2 separate regions of the Homo sapiens genome follow, and region 1 is linked to region 2. The links are contacts of gene promoters, found by promoter capture Hi-C in human tissues and cell types (Jung and others, 2019). All regions are on one chromosome and are shown on one strand. Each heading gives the region's core, a stretch centred on a gene start or on the middle of the fragment in contact. The rest is flanking DNA. Distances are from core to core; before and after follow the strand shown. Region 1 overlaps ZBTB43 (zinc finger and BTB domain containing 43). Region 2 holds the start of RALGPS1 (Ral GEF with PH domain and SH3 binding motif 1).

What was found. The method cuts DNA at HindIII sites, captures the fragments that hold promoters and counts their contacts. A contact is called where the count stands out against the background at its distance.
Region 1: a fragment that was not itself captured here is called in contact with the fragment with the promoter of RALGPS1 in region 2 in 2 of the 25 tissues and cell types used here (dorsolateral prefrontal cortex and spleen).

What each region holds. Positions count from the first base shown.
Region 1 is chr9:126,832,696-126,835,765 of GRCh38, forward strand. It overlaps ZBTB43 (zinc finger and BTB domain containing 43), which reads left to right. Exons shown (of 3, transcript NM_014007.4): 3 at 1-3,070. The coding sequence ends at 1,218. Among named protein-coding and RNA genes, the nearest start is that of ZBTB34, 26 kb to the right of the region's middle. RefSeq lists enhancers at 11-512, 513-1,012. The HindIII fragment of the contact is 3,087 bases long and covers 1-2,976 here.
Region 2 is chr9:126,913,173-126,916,096 of GRCh38, forward strand. RALGPS1 (Ral GEF with PH domain and SH3 binding motif 1) reads left to right here and starts at 1,610. Exons shown (of 19, transcript NM_014636.3): 1 at 1,610-1,803. RefSeq lists a silencer at 1,582-2,011 and an enhancer at 2,502-2,571. The HindIII fragment of the contact is 6,028 bases long and covers 1-2,924 here.

The DNA.
Region 1 (3,070 bases), core at 183-2,682, 81 kb before region 2:
CTCCTGAAAAACAGCAGGAGAATTGTTTTGCCTGATGTGATGAACCCAAGAGTGTTTGAGAACATTCTCCTATCTAGTTATACAGGACGTCTAGTAATGCCCGCTCCAGAAATTGTTAGTTACTTGACAGCGGCAAGCTTCCTCCAGATGTGGCATGTGGTAGACAAATGCACTGAAGTTTTAGAGGGAAACCCTACAGTCCTTTGTCAGAAGCTAAATCATGGCAGTGACCACCAGTCACCAAGCAGCAGTAGTTATAATGGCCTGGTAGAGAGCTTTGAGCTGGGCTCTGGGGGTCATACTGATTTTCCCAAAGCCCAAGAACTGAGAGATGGTGAAAATGAAGAGGAGAGCACCAAAGACGAGCTGTCATCCCAGCTCACCGAGCACGAATACCTGCCCAGCAACTCGTCCACAGAGCATGACCGCCTGAGCACGGAAATGGCAAGCCAGGATGGGGAGGAGGGCGCCAGCGACAGCGCCGAGTTCCACTACACCCGGCCCATGTACAGCAAGCCCAGCATCATGGCTCACAAACGCTGGATCCACGTGAAGCCCGAGCGCTTAGAACAGGCTTGCGAGGGCATGGATGTGCACGCGACCTACGACGAGCACCAGGTCACAGAGTCCATCAACACCGTGCAGACAGAGCACACGGTGCAGCCTTCGGGAGTGGAGGAGGACTTCCACATCGGGGAGAAGAAAGTGGAAGCTGAGTTTGATGAACAGGCTGATGAAAGCAATTATGATGAGCAGGTGGATTTCTATGGCTCTTCCATGGAAGAGTTTTCCGGAGAGAGGTCAGATGGGAATCTAATTGGGCACAGACAGGAGGCTGCCCTCGCAGCAGGTTACAGTGAGAATATTGAAATGGTAACAGGGATTAAAGAAGAAGCTTCCCACTTAGGATTCTCAGCCACTGACAAGCTGTATCCTTGTCAGTGTGGGAAAAGTTTCACTCACAAGAGTCAGAGAGATCGGCACATGAGCATGCACCTCGGTCTTCGGCCTTACGGCTGTGGGGTCTGCGGTAAGAAATTCAAAATGAAGCACCATCTCGTGGGCCACATGAAAATTCACACAGGCATAAAGCCGTATGAGTGTAATATCTGTGCAAAGAGGTTTATGTGGAGGGACAGTTTCCACCGGCATGTGACTTCTTGTACTAAGTCCTACGAAGCTGCAAAGGCTGAGCAGAATACAACTGAGGCTAACTAAAAATAGGATCTGGCCCTTGAGTGGCATGCACAAAAATAAACTATGGTAATTAATGCAAATCTGGGCACAGATGATGCGTGCTACTTGCTATTATGAGAGAAGCTTAAAAAAAAAAAGGAAGATATTTCTGAAAGACCAGCTCTAAGTAGGCCAATTAAAAAAATCTAATTCCTCAAATTTGTGTGTTCCAGTCCTGGCCTGGAATGGGTAATGGGGTGAGTTAACCCACCGCCCAGCTGGCAAGGGAAACCTTCTGACTGGTTGTGATCGAAACAGGTGGACAGAGACACCTGCACTTGGAACTGGACTCCACCCACCAGTTCCATTTTGGGTGGCAGCAGCTTTGGATCACTCATTATTACAAGGTCATGCTGAAATTTTATTTTGCTCTTGCTATAGATACTTAGGTAATGTGGATTTGTTTTGGTAGCTATTTCACTGAAGGAAGTGCTACTTATATAAAAGCTAGAAATAATGTGATTCCTAGGATGAGAAATTGGTTAACAGAGCTCTGTTGTCTGGTTTTAGTCTTTCTAAAGGATATTTTAACTAAAACTATGGAGATGCTAAGAGAGTGACTTTCTAAATATGAAACAGATAATTTACGGTACAAGGCTGACATAGTGCCCTTGTCAGTTTCTGTAAGATGCCACTACTGTCACAAGGTGTTTCAGACTCTTGATAAGGCAGTGTTTTGTATTTTAGTTCTAACATTGAGTTTGGACAATTTTATCTAATTGTAATTCTCTAGGGTGCCAGAGATAGGTATTTCTCATTGGTTTGCTTTCCCAAATCCTGTTTGGTTAATTGTAGCCTCCATACAGTGGGGTCTTCTCTGTGGCTGGTAGACACCAAGCTGCTGTGACTGACCACGGTACCACGGGCTGCCACAGCCCCTGCTCTGTCTTAGATTATGGTGCTTTACAAAGAGAGTGGTCCATGACCACACTTAGTGAGAAGGAGCCACAAGTTGTGGCTGAGAGTTCCCTGTGAACTTGAGTAGTTCATAGAGTGCTAAGGTGACACTCCACCAACCAGAGTGAGAGGGCAGATAGGCAGGATTCTATGAGTGGTTATACTTAAGGGGGACAAAACTGCCCAAGAAGAATCTTGAGAATACACTCTTTCAAGGTGGGGGAGATACTCTTTAGAGGGTACACTGAGCTAATACTACCAGTTCTTTATGAGCACTGGAATGTGTTTGTAAAAGGAGTCCTAAGTTTAGCAAGGTAGTCTACAGAACCATGCTCCCACATTATAGATAAAGCTGCTTAAACTTAAAAGTCCACAAAGCTACGCCGACCAGAAAAAAAAAATTAAAAAAACAAACAAGAAAAGCAACTATTCTGAGACCTTTTCTGCCCATCAGTTAGATGATTTAGGTTAAAAAGAAAGGTAATATTGCACATGCTTTTAAGCTGTGTAACATACCTGAGGTTATCACCAGGGTAGGACAGGGTGCTACTACCATGTCATCTTTTCCACAATCGTACTGGGTTATTTACTTCTAAATAGAAACTTTTTTTTCTTAAAATAAAAATAATTTTTCTTGGATTTGGGGTGAAATTTTATTTGAAAAGTTTGGCTTTGCTGTAATGTAATAGACATTGCTGGCAATGGCCTCTGATTCTCAAGCTCCTAACACCAGGGTGTTTACTTGTTGAACATTGTCTGGAAAGAGGAAAGAAAATACTTATTTACCAGTTAACTCTTGTAAGCAAGATTACAAACAGGGATTTATTCACAACACTGTATCATTCTCGATATATAAAAAGCACTTTGTATTTAAAACTTTATTATAAATATATATATATATTGTTTTTTTTTAAACCTAGAAACTAGATATTACCTC
Region 2 (2,924 bases), core at 360-2,859:
GTACACAGCTTGCTGGTGGCAGAGCCAGGGCAGAACCATTGCACTACACTGTCTCTTGTTCTCTCTCTCTCTTCTTTTTTTTTTTTGGGACGAAGTCTCGCTCTGTCGCCCAGGCTGGAGTGCAGTGGTGCGATCTCAGCTCACTGCAAGCACCGCCTCCCAAGTTCACGCCGTTCTCCTGCCTCAGCCTCCCGAGTAGCTGGGACTACAGGCGTCCGCACCACGCCCGGCTAATTTTTTGTATTTTTAGTAGAGACAGGTTTTCACCATGTTAGCCAGGATGGTCTCTCTCTCTTTTTTGAGACAGGGTATCGCTCTGTCATCCAGGCTGGAGTGCAGTGGCGCCATCACTTGAGGCTCACTGCAGCCTTGACCTCCCGGGCTCAAGTGATACTCCCATCTCACTCTCCTGAGTAGCTGGGACTACAGTCTGCGCCACCACGCCTCGCTAATTTTTGTATTGTTATTAGAGACAGGGTCTGGCCATGTTGCCCAGGCTGGTCTCACACTTCTGAACTCAAGCAATCCTCCCGCTTTGGCTTCCCAAAGTGCTGGGATTACAGGCATGAGCCAACTCGCCAGGCTCTTGTTCTCTTTATGCAAAATAATTAAGCACCTTCTTCGATGATTACCGTTTTCTTAATACAAAATAGCAGAAACTTCTCCCAGAGGTCTTTTAAGACACAGGTGGTTTAACTTCTACTGACTCTATTTATATTCTTTTTTGTTTGTTTCTTTTTTCCTTTCATAAGCTTTGGGAAGCATAATAACCAATCATTCCATATTCATTCATATTACTGCAAAATTACTTTGAAGATTGTCAGAATGATGTTCTATTTGTCCAAGAATCTTTCGGAGTAGGGCAGGTCATAGTACCTCCTGTCTGTGGGAGGCAGAACGGAGTTTTGCTGTGGTTCCAGATTTCCAGGGATTCACAGACCTGGCTTCAATTGTCTTTGCAATTTATTATCCCTGCGACTCTAGCTAAATGACTTAACCTCTGTGCCCACCTCACCGTGCCTGGCACAGAGTAAAGATGTGGGAGCAGAGAGACAGGATCCGGGCTCATTCCCCAGCTTTGCTCCTGTGTGGTCTTGGGCAAGTCCCTTCACCTCGTTGGGCCTAACTCTGCCCAGCTGTAAAATGGATGAGACCGCCCCCCCCCCCGCCCCGCCAGGAACTCCGAGGTTTCTTCTGGCTCTGACGTTCTGGGCTCTGTGCCTACCTCCCAGCTGTGAAGAATGGGCACTAAGGCGATGTCTCGCTCACAAAACCATTTTTGTTGAAAACGATAAATCCCAGGTAGGGATTTACGGGGGATATCGGGTGAGGCCTGGACGGCCGTGTGGGGAATAAGATGCGCGGCTATTTCTAGGCAGGGGATGGGCGTGGCGGGCGGCGGGCCGGGTGTGCTGGCAGCGCAGCATCCCTGCGGGCGGGGAGGGCGTCTGCAGATGAGCTCGGAGGCCGAGGCCCGGGAGGACCGCGGATGCAGCGGCTGCGCACTGGTACGACCAGCCGGCCGATTTGCGTGTCTCCGCCCCTACAACGAGCTGGTTGGGGGGCTGTTCTGGTGCCGCGCGCCGATTGGATGAGAGGCCCGCCGCTCAGGCCCTGGAGCGGACGGTTCCTACTGCGGCTGGGCACCGGCTCCGCTCCCGCGTCTGCCCGCGCTCCAGCTGCGCCTGGCCCGGCCCCGGCCCGGCTCGGCGTGGCCCCGGCCTCCAAGCGAAGGCGCCGCTGCCGCTGGGCCGCTCCCAGGGCCATGAGGAAGCGGCGGCAGCCACTGCGGCCCGCGTCAAGGTGACCGGCCGGGACTGCGGCGGCGGGGAGAGCGGCGGTGAGAGGCGCGGCCGACGGGGCGGGGCGGGGCGGGGCGGGCCCTGAGGCCGGGCCTGAGGGAGCTGCAGGTGTGGGGGGCGGGACCCCGAGGGCCGCCGAAGCCGGGGAGGGGCCTCGGTGCGGGAGGCGGGGCCGGGGCCGTGCCTGCGGGTGCCCGGCGCCGGGGCCTGGCCGGGGTCCGGGGGTTCTGGGGTCCGGGGCCAGGGGCGCGCTGGTCCCCGGGAGCGTGAAGGACGGCGGGGAAGAGGCGCGGGCGCGGGGGGCGGGGCCGGGGGGGCAGTTGGGCGGGGCGCCGCGGCTGCAGGTGCGGGGGGCGGGGCCGGCGGGGCTGCCGTGGGCGGGGCTGTGGGGTGCGGCCCGCGCTGGACCCAAGGAAAGCACAGGTGCGGGGGGCGGGGCCCGGGGACCTGCAGCGGTGGGGGGCGGGGCCCGGGTGGCTGCGGTACGGAAGCAGGGCCCCAGGTGAGGAGCAGGCGAGGGTGAGTGGTCGCCCGAGAAGGAAAGGCCGCCCTCTCCGCTGCCCAGGGGTGCTTGGGTGGGAGCGGGGGCTTTGGGCTCCCTGAGGATTCTGGGGGCATCCGGGGCTGCCGCTAGAAGGGCCGTCCGGGCCTGCCTGTGCCTCTGCTGACTCGGGCTTGGAGCTCAGCTGCCCTGGTTACTGGCCGGTTGCCTCCCCTATGCTACGCCGCGCCCTAAGTGGGGCGCGCTGTTTTTCGCACCTCAGGGGCTTTCCTGTTGCTATTGAAGGGGCTTGCCAGGATGCGGGGGGCGGGGGGTTGGTTGTCATTGGATGATCGGTTGTTGAAAAATGTGTGTGCTTGAAGAGTAGTATGAGGCTTGGGAGGGGTCCTGGCTTGCTGGCCACTGGTACCAGAAGCTGCTGTAGATCTCAGCAGTGCGTCTCAAAAAGACTGAAATGGCAGCCTGTTAAGTGGGGAGAGCAGGGATGAGAATTCAGAAGCTTTTGACTATGCTACCTGGGAGAGTTTTTCACCTGTTTCCTCCGTTGCAAAATGAGCATGTTAGTACCTGCCTGTGTGCCTCCCAGGGGCCTGGTGAGGATAGGATGAAACAGTGCCTAC